Regions from separate parts of the Homo sapiens genome. Here region 1 is linked to region 2. The links are contacts of gene promoters, found by promoter capture Hi-C in human tissues and cell types (Jung and others, 2019). All regions are on one chromosome and are shown on one strand. The core of a region is centred on a gene start or on the middle of the fragment in contact, and the rest is flanking DNA. Distances in the headings are between cores, read along the strand shown.

Region 1 (6,893 bases), core at 2,316-4,815, 970 kb before region 2:
ACGCATCACTGCTCCCGGCTAATTTTTTGTTGTTGTTCTTGTTGTTGTTTTTGAGACGGAATCTCGCTCTGTCGCCCAGGCTGCAGTGCAGTGGCGCCATCTCGGCTCACTGCAAGCTCCGCCTCCCTGGTTCACGCCATTCTCCTGCCTCAGCCTCCCGAGTAGCTGGGACTACAGGCGCCCGCCACCACGCCCGGCTAATTTTTTTTTTTTTATTTTTAGTAGAGACGGGGTTTCACTGTGTTAGCCAGGATGTATCGATCTCCTGACCTTGGGATCCGCCCGCCTCGGCCTCCCAATTTTCACCATGTTGGCCAGGCTGGTCTCAAACTCCTGACCTCAGGTGATCCACCCACCTCGGCTTCCCAAAGTGCTGGGATGACAGGCGTGAGCCACCACGCCCGACTGATTTTTGTATTTTTATTTTTTTGGGCGGGGGGGACAGTGTGAACACAGTCCCTCCACTACCACAAATTACGCAGTCAAGTTTCCCACATTTGGGGAAAACGCAGGGCTCAGCACATCCGGAGTGCAATGGCTAAGCCTTGCCCTGGGAAAACCACCTTCGCGATCATGGTATCTCCCCTGCCGGGTAAGTATGATTTTTGTATTTTTAATAGAGATGGGGGGGTTTCACCATGTTGGCCAGGCTGGTCTCGAACTCCAGACTTCAAGTGATCCGCCTGCCTCAGCCTCCCAAAGTGCTTGAATTACAGGCCTGAGCCACTGCGCCTAGCCTCTTTTCTTTTCTTTTTGAGATGGGGTCTCACTCTGTCACCCAGGCTGGGGTGCAATGGTGGGACCACAGCTCCCTATAGCCTGGAAATCCTGAGCTGAAGCTCTCCTCCCACTTCAAGCAGCTGGGACCACAGGCACGTGCCTGCACTGTGCCAGGCTAGAACTTTATCTGGATATAATAATCACAACATTCAAATCCTCAACTTCACATAACACAAATTCATAAAAATACCTATGACCACAATCCTACTTGCAGTATCATATCTACTTAGTGACCTTTGCCCTGTTCATTCCGTGACCAATCAAACGGCACACCCACCCTGGCTGCGGCTCCACCCCACTGTACAGTGGACTGACAGGATGCTTCCACTGAGCAGACCACAGAGCAGAAGCTCAAGACACAGAGAGTGGATCCGCCACAGTTCATAAAATGCTACAGATGGCATCTGGGTATTTCCAGCACTTCCAGCGGGAACCCGCTCTGAAACGTTAACTGATGGAAACGGCCCTGACTTTCCCACACTCACCCCCTGGCCTAGGACTGCTCTTAGAGAAATTCACCCTGGGGTGATGGCTGGCCACCACCTCCCATGCGTGGGGCTGTCCCTGGTGAAGCACATACATAGGGTTTCAGAGTGCCTCTGCAACTATGACGAAAGTCAAATCATTCCAGTGAGTCTAGTATGCAACCAAGTATAAGGTGCACCAATTTAACCCTAACAAGCCAACCGTAAAACATGCGAAATTTCAGGGCCAGGCGCAGTGGCTCACGCCTGTAATCCCAGCACTTCGGGAGGCCAAGGTGGGGGGATCACGAGCTCAGGAGTTCGAGACTAGCCTCGCCAACCTGGTGAAACCCCGACTCTACTAAAAATACAAAAATTAGCCAGGCGTGATGGTGCACATGCCCGTAGGCCCAGCTACTGGGGAAGCTGAGACAGGAGAATCACTTGAAGCCGGGAGGCAGAGGATGCAATGAGCCGAGATCGCGCCACTGCACTCCAGCCTGTCGACAGAGCGAGACTCCGTCTCAAAACAAACAAAAAACCCCTAAATTTCAGAGGTAGTTAAGTAGTAAAACACATGCATTCACCTCAAAATTGAGACAGTATGATCTGACAAAACTTGTGATATCTGCTTTGAGTTTTATCTACACAGCAGCTGCAGCTTAGGAAACACTTACCACGTGCCTGCCATCTACTGAACAGAGCCCTTCCTAAGAGGCCTGTGAGACGGGCCTGGTCAGGGGGTGGGAGGGTAGCTCTGGGGTCACCTGTCTGAGCTGCCATTGACAGGGACTCAGTGGCCAGGCAAGTTACTCAACACCTCCCCATGTCGATCTCCTCTTTGTCGAATGGGCATTAAACAGTCCAGCAAGGTATGTCTGGGAGCTGGCTTGAATAAAGCGGTCAGACCCTATGCCAGGCACACAGTTAATGTTAGCTATTATGATGATGATCTGTGCTTTTCGGCTAAGAAGACTGAGACTCAGGAAGGTGGAGTAACCTATTTGCAGTCACCGTGCTAAGGATCAGCAGGGCTGTAACTGAAATCAAAGTCAGCCTCCCAAGCACCGTACATCGTAACTGATTCTCAGCATCCATTTCACAAAAGGCAGTAATTCTTCTCTGTCCTGATCACAAATAACTTATTTTCTTGTACATCAAGCCTTTTCTGAATAAGGTACTATATGGACCACTGTCATTTATTTTATTTTATTTTATTTTAGAGACAGAGTCTCACTATATCACCCAGGTAGGAGTGCAGTGGCTCAATCACACCTCACGGCAGCCTTGACCTCCTGGACTCCTGCAACCCTCCGAAGTAGTTGGGACTACAGGTGTGCAACCACCACACTTGGATAATTTTTTATTTTTTGTAGAGGCAGGATCTCCCTAAGTTGCCCAGGCTAGGCAAACTCCTGAGCTCAAGTGATCCTCCCACCTTAGACTCCCAATGTGCTGGGATTACAGGTGCGAGCGATGGCACCCAGGCCACTGTCATATTTTAATTAATTAATTAATTTTTTTTGAGACAGAGTCTCGATCACTCACCCAGGCTGGAGTGCAGTGGCGCGATCTCGGCTCACTGCAAGCTCCACCTCCCAGGTTCACGCCATTCTCCTGCCTCAGCCTCCCGAGTAGCTGGGACTATATACAGGCGCCCACCATCACACCCGGCTTTTTTTGTATTTTTAGTAGAGACGGGGTTTCATCGTGTTAGCCAGGATGGTCTCGATCTCCTGACCTCATGATCTGCCCGTCTCGGCCTCCCAAAATGCTGGGATTACAGGCGTGAGCCAGCGTGCTCGGCTATTAATTTATTTATTAAGACAGAGTCTTTCTATTGCTCAAGCTGGAGTGCAGTGGAGCAATGTCGGCTCACTGCAACCTCCGCCTTCTGGGTTTAAGCAATTGTCCTGCCTCAGCCTCCTGAGTAGCTGGAATTACAGGTGCCTGCACCACACCTGGCTAATTTTCATATTTTTAGTAGAGATGGAAGGGGTTTCGCCATGTTGGCCAGGCTGGTCTCAAACTCCTGACCCCAAGTGATCCACCCGTCTTGGCCTCCCGAAGTGGTGGGATTACAGGTGTGAGCCACCGTGCCTGGCCCCATATTTTTAAATAAAAGTAAAATAAGTACATATATAGACAAAGTTTACAAAGCTTAATACATGTTTTATTGGCTATATTTTAATTAATTCTCAGCTTGAAGACACATTAATTATTGTCGCGTAGAATTTTAGATGTAAAAAGTATTTTCCTTAATTAAAAAAAAAATCCTGGGCCGGGCATAGTGGCTCACGCCTGTAATCCCAGCACTTTGGGAGGCTGAGGCGGATCACCTGAGGTCAGTGAGTTCAAGACCAGCCTGGCCAACATGGTGAAACCCCGTCTCTACTAAAAATATAAAAATTAGCCAGGTGAGGTGGCACGTGCCTGTAATCCCAGCTACTCGGGAGGCTGAGGCAGGAGAATCGCTTGAACCCAGGAGGCGGAGGTTGCAGTGAGCCAAGATGGTGCCATTGCACTCCAGTCTGGGTGACAGAGCAAGACTTTGTCTCCAGAAAAAAAAAAAAATTAGCTGGGCAGGGTGGCACGCCCCTATAATCCCAGCTACTCGGGAGGCTGAGGCAGGAGAATTGCTTGAACCCAGGAGGCGGAGGTTGCAGTGAGAGCTGAGATCACATCATTGCACTCCAGCCTGGGTGACAAGAGCCAGACTCCGTGAAAAAAAAAAAAAAAAAATCTGCCATGTGCGGTCATGTGTGGTGGCTCACACCTGTAACCTGAGGTGGGAGGATCACTCGAGCCCAGAGGTGAAGGCTGCAGTGACTGCACCACTGTAAACCAGCCTGGGCAAGAGTGTGAGACCTTGTCTCTTAAAACAAAAAAATCCAGCCCCGGGTGTGGTGGCTCACACCTGCAATCCCAGTACTTTGGAAGGCTGAGGTGGGTCAATCACTTGAGGTCAGGAGGTCGAGATCGGCCTGGCCAACATGGTGAAACCCCATCTCTAGTAAAAATACAAAAATTAGCCGGGCATGGTGGTGCACACCTGCAGTTCCAGCTACTCAGGAGGCTGAGGCAGGAGAGTCACTTGAACCCGGGAAGCAGAGGTTGCAGTGAGCCGAGATCGTGCCATGGCACTCCAGCCTGGGCGACAAGAGCGAGACCCCATCACATACACAAAAGACAGGAAAAAAAAAAAAAAGCCAGGCACGGTGGCTCACCCTATAATCCTGACACTTTGGGAGGCCGAGGCAGGCGGATCACCTGATGTCAGGAGTTCGAGACCAGCCTGGCCAACATGGTGAAACCCCCGTCTAGACTAAAAATACAAAAATTAGCCGGGCGTGGTGGCGGGCACCTGTAATCCCAGCTACTCTGGAGGCTGAGGCAGGAGAATCGCTTGAACCCGAGAGGCAGAGGTTGCAGTGAGCCGAGATCGCGCCGTTGCACTCCAGCCTGGGGTACAACAGCGAGACTTTGTCTCAAGAAAAACAAAAACAAACAAAAAAACCCCCACAGTTTATTAATCTGCCTTATTGTCCTTTGCCTTTTAAAAATATAAGATAAGCCTGTTTAAGGCTTTACTGGGAGGCAGCTGTCAGTCAGCCAGCTGTTCTGGAGTCAGTCCAGGGCAAAGGCTGCTGTAGGAACAGCATTAGCACAACTTTGCCTATTTATCCTTAACCAGAGCAGGTTTACAAGGATGCCTATACCATGAACACCTGCACGCATCTCAGTCCGCCCACCTGGAGGTCAGACACACTAAGAGGCAGCTGGACCAGCTCCCTGTTCAAGGCCACTTCAGATTCTATGTGAGTTACAGTGCCCTTGTCTTAAAGTATTTTCATAAATGTGAATTAAGCAGTGCTCACACCAGGGAGAAGGATGCTGTGAGTCTGTCTGTTGGTCTGCTGGTGACAATCAGTTAGGGTTACCCAACCTGGCGGGATGATGCAAGAGAAAACAGCACCAACAGAAACCACATCGTAAGAGGTAATTTTGGGGAAAAAAGGGTAATTTTGTAAATCCTGTGTTGTCACTTTAACATGTATGATGACATTATTTGTGCTTATTCTTCAATATTATACCTTTATACTCGAGAATCTAAAAAACTGTTTAAGACCCACCCTGCATGGCTGTCCTGGGGATTACGGCTAATGCATATTCGGCAACCTTGTCCCAGAACACCTGTTCAACAAACCACGGTTTGCCTCATTTCAGAGTGTTTTGCTATTTGGACACGGGGTATTCTTTTTCATCCCCCACTGCAACCTCCGCTTCCCAGGCTCCAGGGATCCTCCCACCTCAGCCTGACCTCAGCCTCTCGAGTAGCTGGGACCACAGGCATGCACCACCACGCCCAGCTAACTTTTGTATTTTCTGCAGAGATGGGGTTTCCTCATGTTACCCAGGCTGGTCTCAAATTCCTGAACTCGAGAGATCTATCCACCTCAGCCTCCCAAAGTGTTGGGGTTACAGGTGTCAGCCACTGCACCTGCCCAAATTTTTGTATTTTTAGTAGAGACGTGGTTTCGCCATGTTGGCCAGGCTAGTCTCAAACTCCTGGCCTCATGTAATCTGCTTGCCTTGGCCTCCCAAAGCACTGGGATTACAGGCTTAAACCACTAAGCCTGGCCAAAAATGTTTTTAATTTTTTAAAAATTTCTATACGAAGAGCCTTATTAAAAGTTTGAGATGGGCCGAGCGCAGTGGCTCACACCTGTAATCCCAGCACTTTGGGAGGCCAAGGTGCGCAGACCATGAGGTCAAGAGATCGAGATCATCCTGGCCAACATGGTGAAACCCCGTCTCTACTAAAAAATACAAAAATCAGCCGGGCGTAGTGGCGCATGCCTGTAGTCCCAGCTGCTACAGAGGCTGAGGCAGGAGAATCGCTTGAACCCAGGAGGCGGAGGTTGCAGTGTGCCAAGATCGCACCACTGCTCTCCAGTCTGGTGACAGAGACTCCATCTCAAAAAAGAGAGTTTGAGGTGAGTCAGTGAGGTGGTGCGTGCCTACAATCTCAGTTACTGAGGGTTAGGGTGATTCTAATCTACTGAGACTGTAGGCATGCACCACCTTGGGAGGCTGAGGCAGGAGGATCGAGCCCAGGAAGGCCAACCTGGGCAACATGTGGAGGCCCCATCTCTACAAAAATTAAAACATTAGTCAACTGTGGTGACACATACCTAAAGTCCCAGCTACTTGGGAGGCTGAGATAGGAGGATTGCTTGGGCCTGGGAGAATGCAGTGAGCTAAGACTGTGTCACTCCTCTCTAACTTGGGTGAGAGACAGAGTGACACCCTGTTGTAAAAAAAACAGGATGTGGCAGGGCGCGGTGGCTCACGCCTCTAATCCCAGCACTTTGGGAGGCCGAGGTGGGCAGATCACGAGGTCAGGAGATCGAGACCATCCTGGCTAACACGATGAAATCCCGTCTCTACTAAAAATACAAAAAACATTAGCTGGGCGTGGCGGCGGGTGCCTGTAGTCCCAGCTACTCGGGAGGCTGAGGCAGGAGAATGGCATGAACCCAGGTGGCAGAGCTTGCAGTGAGCCGAGACTGAGTCACTGCACTCCAGCCTGGGCGACAGAGCAAGACTCTGTCTCAAAAAAAAAAAAAAAAAACAAGATGAGGCCAG
Region 2 (7,379 bases), core at 4,566-7,065:
TGGGAGGCAGAGGCAGGAGAATCGCTTGAACACAGGAGGCGGGGGTTGCAGTGAGCAGAGATCTCGTCACTGCACTCCAGCCTGGGCGACAGAACAAGACTTCACCTCCAAAAAAAAAAAAAAAAGCCATGAAGGAACCACTTAGCATCCCAGGCACAGAAGCCACCTGTCTCTCAGTCCACACAGCAAAGCCACACACTTGGCGTTGTCACGAAGCCCCCTCAGAGCACATGGGGAATGGAAGAAAGCTTCCCTCTGGCAGGCCCCACCTTCTGCCTCTGCATGGTGTGGAGGAGGTCTCCGAAGGGCGACTCCTCGGGACTGTCAAAGGCCAGCAGTGCCAGGGTACGCTCCATCTCTGTGAGGCACTCTCGGCTCTCCTCGCCCTGCTCCGCCAGCTGAGTCTGTGCAAACTCCAGCGCCGCCTCTGTCTCCCGCTGGCGGATCAGCTCGATCAAATGCTGTTGCTGGAGGCAGAGACAGACAAGCTTGACCCCCACACACCCAGGCCAGGGACTTAGGGCAGGTGGTACCAGGTCCCAATCAAAAGTACATCACAGAGGGAAGACTTTTCTTGCATCTCTGAGTTATCAAATTTGCATTTTTAAAACAAAAAACCGCTTCTGAACTACATAAAAGAGCAAACTCAAACCTCTCCCCCTCACATGCATTGAAATAACATTATTAAAGCAAATTAGCCTAGTTATTTCTCAATCATTGCAAATAACTTTAACTTATCAAGTATTCACAAACCAGACTACTCTCTCCTGAAACATACCTGCAAATGGAAGTAAAGATACCGGTTTGTGTCCAAGAGCTCTGGGTGGAGGCTGTTGATCAAGGCGATGGCCTCCTGAATCTGACCTTTCAGTATCATCTCCCGGATCTTGATTCGTTCATCAAGTGTTTCCAGATCCACACTAGGTTCGATTCCAGATTCCATTCGAAACTTCTCCGCTGCTTCCTTAAAGCCCTCTGAATAGAAAAACCATCTTCACTGCTAGGAAAGTTAGCAAGGAATTAAGGCAAAGACTTTGTATCTCCAGAAACTCCAATTGCCTCAATTAATAACCTCTGATGTGAACCACACTTTCTCAGGAACTCGGTATTAATATCTTTATAATTTACAAGTTATGCTCTCAAAATACATATAGAAAATGAGAAGAGTATACTTCATTCCTTGTTATCCCATCCAAAAACTCTAACCCATTAGCCAAAGAGGTCAGAATGGCTGCTGGCCCAGTGTGTTGGTGTGGGCTCCTTTGAGAGGACAGATAATAGGTCCAGACGCCAGCAGCCGCAGCTCTGGTGCCAGGTTAGGCAAGTCACACTGGCTCAGCCTCCACAGCACAGGGGCCCTCCATGGTCAGCTATACCTGCAGTGGCCTGTTGACTCCCACCTCTTAAGAGTGTCTACAATTTTTCAAAGCCAGCATGTGTGCCCCTTCCCCTGCCCCTGACATAATTATAGGCCTAAATTTCCTCTTCACCTTCCAAAAATATTTTTTTTGAGATGGGGTCCCACTCACTCTCCCAGGCTGGAGTGCAGTGGCACAATCTTGGCTCACTGCAACCTCCGCCTTCCGGGCTTAAGTGATCCTCCCACCTCAGCCTCCCAAGTAGCTGGGACTACAGGCACAAGCCACCACATCCAGCTAATTAACATTTTTTTTTTGTAGAGACAAGGTCTCACTATGTTGCCCAGGCTGGTCTGGAATTCCTAGGCGCGAACAATCTTCCTCTGTCTCTCAAAGTGCTGGGACTATAAGCATGAGCCACCATGCTTGGCCCAAAAAAGTTTCACAGAGATTAATTTGGGAGAAGGAACTGGGGACTAACAGGAGGGAGATTTTTCATGTCATGTCTTTTAAAAACATCTATTTTCTTGCCATATACAGCACTGCCCTTCCTCCAGTTGACATCAAGAACAGCCTGACTGTTATTTCCCTCTGCACGCTTCTGCTCTTCCCCATTCCCATCCTCTGAGTTGGGCATACTTTCCAGAAACAGGCCAGCATATTTTTGCAGACTGGCCAGAAGAGATCAACTATTTAGGCTTTCAATATACTTACTTCACAACAGTCTCAATTATTTTGAGTAACTGTAAAACTGTCAAAGGCTGAAAAATGGGTTTGTGTTAGGTCTCAGAGACCTGGAAAAATCTCATCTTCAGAAAAGGCTTTCACATGATAACTTCCAAACTTACCAGGTTAGCATTGTGTTTTCATAATGTCTGAACACAAATAACTACGTCATCAAACCTCAGTGCTACAGCACTCCTTATGTGTTCAAAAAGGGAGAATCACATTCATGCAACAGCATCCTCACTGTAAGCCATTACCTGTGACCAGGTAGTTCATGATGAGGCGGTTCATGTCTGCTCTCTGGACATGCAAGTTATTGAGCTTTTCCATCCACTCATCTTTCGTGATTTCATCGGGTTTTTCTGCATAACTCATTCTGATTTATTTCTACAGGAAAAAAATAACAGCTGAGGGAGGGGTTTAGATGCTCCTCCAAGGGCAGAGGGCAGCGCTGGAAGAGCTGTGAGCCGGAGAATCCCACACTGAGCATGTACGGAAAGACAACGCTGCCGTGGGACACCCACCAGACTGAGAATGCCAATGCTTAGCAAAGAATAAGTTCACTTCAACTTTTTCTACTCTGGTATCAGGAGAACGGACTGTGCTACAAAAACAATCTGGTACTCCTTACAAAGCTGAACATGTGTGCTCCTCACAACCCAGCAATTCTACTTTTAATACATTTATATTCTAGAAAAACTCACCAGGATGCACCAAACACAGACAACGCTGTTCACAGAAGCACCGTTCAAAGCGGCAGGAATGTGGAAGCCACCCACCTGAGCGTTCATTCAACAGCAGCGTGGACCAAGGGACTGTGGCGCACAGAACTGCATGTTTAAAACCCTTGGGCAGATGGGTTTTGGAATTCAGAATTCTTCAATGTACAACGATTATTTGGCACAATTTACCATGTAACAGCCTCACTGGGGTTTGGGGGCACTCCCCATCATCAGACGTTATTTCTTCACTGAAATGTGTTAGGTATCTATACTAAGTGGTAGAGGCTATTAAACTTTACCTGGTGAGGTTTTGGCCACCAAATAGGTTAAAAACAAAACCAAAAACTGTGGTTTCAGAGATGTTTAGATTTTTAGCATTGCTGAGAAGGGACTGTGGTCATGTATTCACACAAGAGAATTTCATAAAGCAGTTAAAATAAATGAACATGACACAAAGTCACCTGGATGACTCTCATAAAACAATGCTGAATGAAAAAAGAGAGTTGCGGCCGGGCGCGGTGGCTCACGCCTGTAATCCCAGCACTTTGGGAGGCCGAGGCGGGCGGATCACAAGGTCAGGAGATCCAGACCATCCTGGCTAACACGGTGAAACCCCGTCTCTACTAAAAATACAAAAAATTAGCCGTGCTCGGTGGCGGGCGCCTGTAGTCCCAGCTACTCCAGAGGCTGAGGCAGGAGAATGGCGTGAACCCGGGAGGCGGAGATTGCAGTGAGCCGAGATCATGCCACTGCACTCCAGCCTGGGCGACAGAACAAGACTCCGTCTCAAAAAAAAAAAAAAAATTTGCCGGGCATGGTGGCAGATGCCTGTAATCCCAGCTACTCGGGAGGCTGAGGTAGGAGAATGGCGTGAACCCGGGAGGTGGAGCTTCTAGTGAGCCGAGATGGTGCCACTGCACTCCAGCCTGGGCGACAGAGCGAGACTCCGTCTCAAAAAAAAAAAAAAAGAAAAAAAAGAAAAGAAAAAGAGAGTTGCAGGAGAGGCCAAATCTGCCGTGAGTTTTATCAGGAACAACAAGACAAAATACATGACATGTGCTTTAGCAACAAATATGTACGTGGCAAACCTATTTTGTTTGTTTTTTTTTAAATAAGGGCATGAAAGCTGACACTCAGGAGGGGGTTACCTGTGGGAGGGGCAAATGGCTGAAGCCCCAGAGGCAGCTGTTCCGGCTTTGGGAGAATGGGTGGATACCTGAGACAGGCAGGGGCACGCCACCGTCCACTCTGTCTTTCTCTTTTGCCACTGATACATACGTTACACATACTACTTTATACGAAGTACTGCTAAAGTGTTTCAATAAATTAAAAAACTTTGGTCTCTTGGCTGAAAATGGGATGAATGCAGGGTGGTGAGATCTGAGCAGCCAGTCCCTTAGGGAGACACCCAAGCGAGAGAGAACATCGGCAGAAGAGATGGAGAGCAAGGTGAGATCAAGATGCTTTGGCCAGAGTCAATGGCTGCTGCTAGACAGATTACCGGACAAAAGAGAGGGAAGAATAGAAGATGGTCACAGGTTTCAAGCATGAGAGGCCCTGCAAGATGGGGCCACAAATAAGGAGGAAGGACTGGAAGAAGAACAGGTTTGAGAAGCAGGGCAAGTTTGACGTGACTATTAGACATGCGTCTGGAGAAATCAAGCAGGTGTCTGAATTACAGATCCTGAGCTCAGAGCTGAAAACATGAATTAGTGAAATAAGGGGCGGGGGGGGCGGTGCTGGGGCACAGGGATATTTAAAGCCAAGAATTCAGCAAAGACCATAGGAAGAGCGTAGATAGGGAATGAGAATCGCCATTACTTGGAGGATGCCAACCTTGAAGGTAAAGCAGAGAAAGTGGCACCAGCAGAAGAAAACTTGATGTGGAGCGGCAGGTAAAGTGGAGGAGAAACCAGGAGTCGCTGTCACACACGAACACCCATCTTTCGTTGTCAACTGCAAAACTCACTGAGACCAACTTTTTATTCACGACAATTAATGGTAACTTAAGGACTCATTTTCTTTTTCTTTTTTTTTTGAGACAGAGCCTCGCTCTGTCGCCCAGGCTGGAGGGCAGTGGCGCGATCATGGCTCACCGCAGCCTCGACCTCCTGGGCTCAAGCGATCCTCCCACCTCAGCCTCCAGAGTAACTGGGACAACAGGAGCGCACCACTCTGCCTGGCTAATTTTTTTATTTTTAGCAGAGAAGGGAGTCTCGCTGTTGCCACGGCTGGTCTCGAACTCGCGGGCTCAAGTGATCCGCCCACTTCGACCTCCGCCACCGCGCCCGGCCCTAGGACCAACGTTAAGAGCTCCCTAGGAAAAGGCACCTTTTCTCTCGGCCCATTCGGTGATCGGCACTCACAGCGCTTCCACTCCGGGCAGTTACGTGCGCCCATGAAAAGCAACAACTTTGTAGAACTGGCCAGTCCTGTTAGCAGGAAGAACTCGGTAGTCTCAAACTCCAGCATAAAAAGATTCAGCAGAAGAAAACACCCGTGTGCTGAAGACTCCTACTTTCCATGCCACACTTTACATCCTCACCCGCTCGGTTTCTGCTTTAAAGCAGCAGATTTTATTAAAAAGACTTCGTTACGGACGTCGCTCCTCCACAGAGACAGCTACCGCCGCCCCTCAGGCTGGCCGGGACCGCCCCAGAACACCAGCGCCTGAGGCCGCGCGCCTGGAGGCTGAGCCCTGACTGCCCCCTGGGCACCGGCGCGGGGCGGCCGTCCGGGCCTGGACTCACTGCGCGCCCCAATTCCGCACCTGCCAGCGCCGGCGCTTCCAAGGCCCCCAGAGCGGGGGCGGCGCGCACCCCGGCCACATCCCGCCTGCCCGCCCGGCCCGGCCCCGGGAGACGCTCGGCCCGGCCGCCCGGGCCCGCCGCCGCCATCTTACCGTGCGGAACCTGCCTCCCGCGCTGCGCGGTCTGGGCGGCTGCGGCTCCGCAGCCTCTCCTGGGCTGGGGAGAGGTGGCGGCCGCCGGGGCGCCCGAGTAGAAGGAGGCAGAGGTGGGGGCCGCGGCGGAGGCGGGGGCGGGGGCGGGGGCGGGGAGCGGGAGGGCAGGCGCACCGGAGGCCGCCCCTCAGCACCTCTCGCGACAGCAAGAGAGCGCGAGAGCGCGAGCCGATGACCAATGAAGCGCCCCCGCGAGGGGGCGGGGCGGACGGCCTCCCGGAAGCGCGGAACCTCAGCTTCCGTACTTGCGCAGAACTCCCCTCGCGGCGACCACGCACTACGGGTTGGCGCCAGAGTCAAAAGGCGTCGGCCCTCTGGCAAGATGGCTGCTGCGGAGGCGTTGGAGCGCGGAAATCTGGAACCGGGATGGCGACGTCTACACTGAGTCGGAGGCGAAGGTCCCAGCTTTTTTCCTGTCGTTTGCGTGAGGCCGCACGGGGTGGGGCGGGGGAAAGGCGCCGGGTGTCCGCGGCCGCCCCTCAGACGGGGAGGGAGTCCCCTCCCGACCGGCGGCCTTCCAGGGCTAGTGTCCCTGAGGTCCAGGGAGAGACGGCTGACCCGAGACCGGGCTGGGCGAGAGCTGTGCTGTCTGCGCGTTGAAGCGAGTTCCCCCGCTTTACTCGAGATGTTGTTGAGCGCGTCCTCACTCGAGGCCAGGTGGGGAATCAGAAGGGCCCTGCCCTCAGGGCGCCTCCCATGGGCTACGCCGAAGGGCGGGACGCGGCCAGGGCGCGCGGGACAAAGGAGACCCCACTTGCTTGCGGGGCGGAGTCCCGGCGGCGGCGCGGGGCAGGGCCGGGGTTACTCGGTGACTGGAGACCCTCCCGGCAGGAGCGCGGGTTGAGGCCGCACTTGGGTATTTGCGCGTTTACTTGCTTATTGCCTGTCCGCTCAGGAGGAATGCGAAGTCTGTCATTGCAGGGTCCCATGTTTCCGTTGCTGGGAAGTACCTTAAAATATTTGATAGAGCCGAAGGAAGAAATAGAGTCCTTGAGGGGCAGCTCCTGATTTCATCTGTGAGGAATTCACGGGACGGCTTCTTTCTGAAGTCAGGGGTGAGGTGGTTTCGTGTGTTTGCTTACAAGCGAGCTGAACAACGTGTAAGCTATGTCGGTCGGTCTACTCAGCGACAGTAAGTCCAGTTCGGCAAATAGGTTGGAGGAGACTGATTTTGGACATTTTCCGTTAATCGAAAGAGCTAAATCTGCAGGTATAAGGTCTTGACAAAATTATGCTTCATATGCAGAGGCAGTACATGCCAGTAATTTTTTCATTTGCAACTACATAACCCTATGGGAAACAGTTATTGGTCTTTATTTAGTTATTTATTTTGAGACGAAGTCTCACTCTCGCCCAGGCTGGAGCGCAGTGGCGCCATCTCGGCTCACTGCAACCTCCGCCTCCCGGGTTCAAGCGATTCTCCTGCCTCAGCCTCCCGAGTAGCTGGGACCACAGGGGCGCACCACCACGCCCAGCTAATTTTTGTATTTTTAGTAGAGACGGGGTTTCCCCTTGTTGGTCAGGCTGGTCTCAGTGTCTTGACCTCGTGATCCGCCCGCCTCGGACTCCCAAAGTGCTGGGATTACAGGCGTGAGCCACCGCTCCCGGCCT

Evidence for each region. Contacts are between HindIII fragments. The study calls those that stand out against the background at their distance.
Region 1: a contact is called between a fragment that was not itself captured here and the fragment with the promoter of GID8 in region 2, in 1 of the 25 tissues and cell types used here (dorsolateral prefrontal cortex).

The regions. Positions count from the first base shown.
Region 1 is chr20:63,902,662-63,909,554 of GRCh38, reverse strand. All of the region lies in intron 1 of DNAJC5 (DnaJ heat shock protein family (Hsp40) member C5), which reads right to left. It also overlaps the pseudogene RNU1-134P. Among named protein-coding and RNA genes, the nearest start is that of DNAJC5, 11 kb to the right of the region's middle. The HindIII fragment of the contact is 9,611 bases long and covers 1-6,893 here.
Region 2 is chr20:62,936,583-62,943,961 of GRCh38, reverse strand. It overlaps GID8 (GID complex subunit 8 homolog), which reads right to left and starts at 5,815. Exons shown (of 5, transcript NM_017896.3): 1 at 5,709-5,815; 2 at 2,342-2,471; 3 at 779-975; 4 at 270-467. The coding sequence starts at 2,459. It also overlaps a transcript of DIDO1 not described here. RefSeq lists silencers at 5,445-5,574, 5,645-5,874, 6,245-6,294, 6,565-6,614 and an enhancer at 5,081-5,749. The HindIII fragment of the contact is 10,021 bases long and covers 1-7,379 here.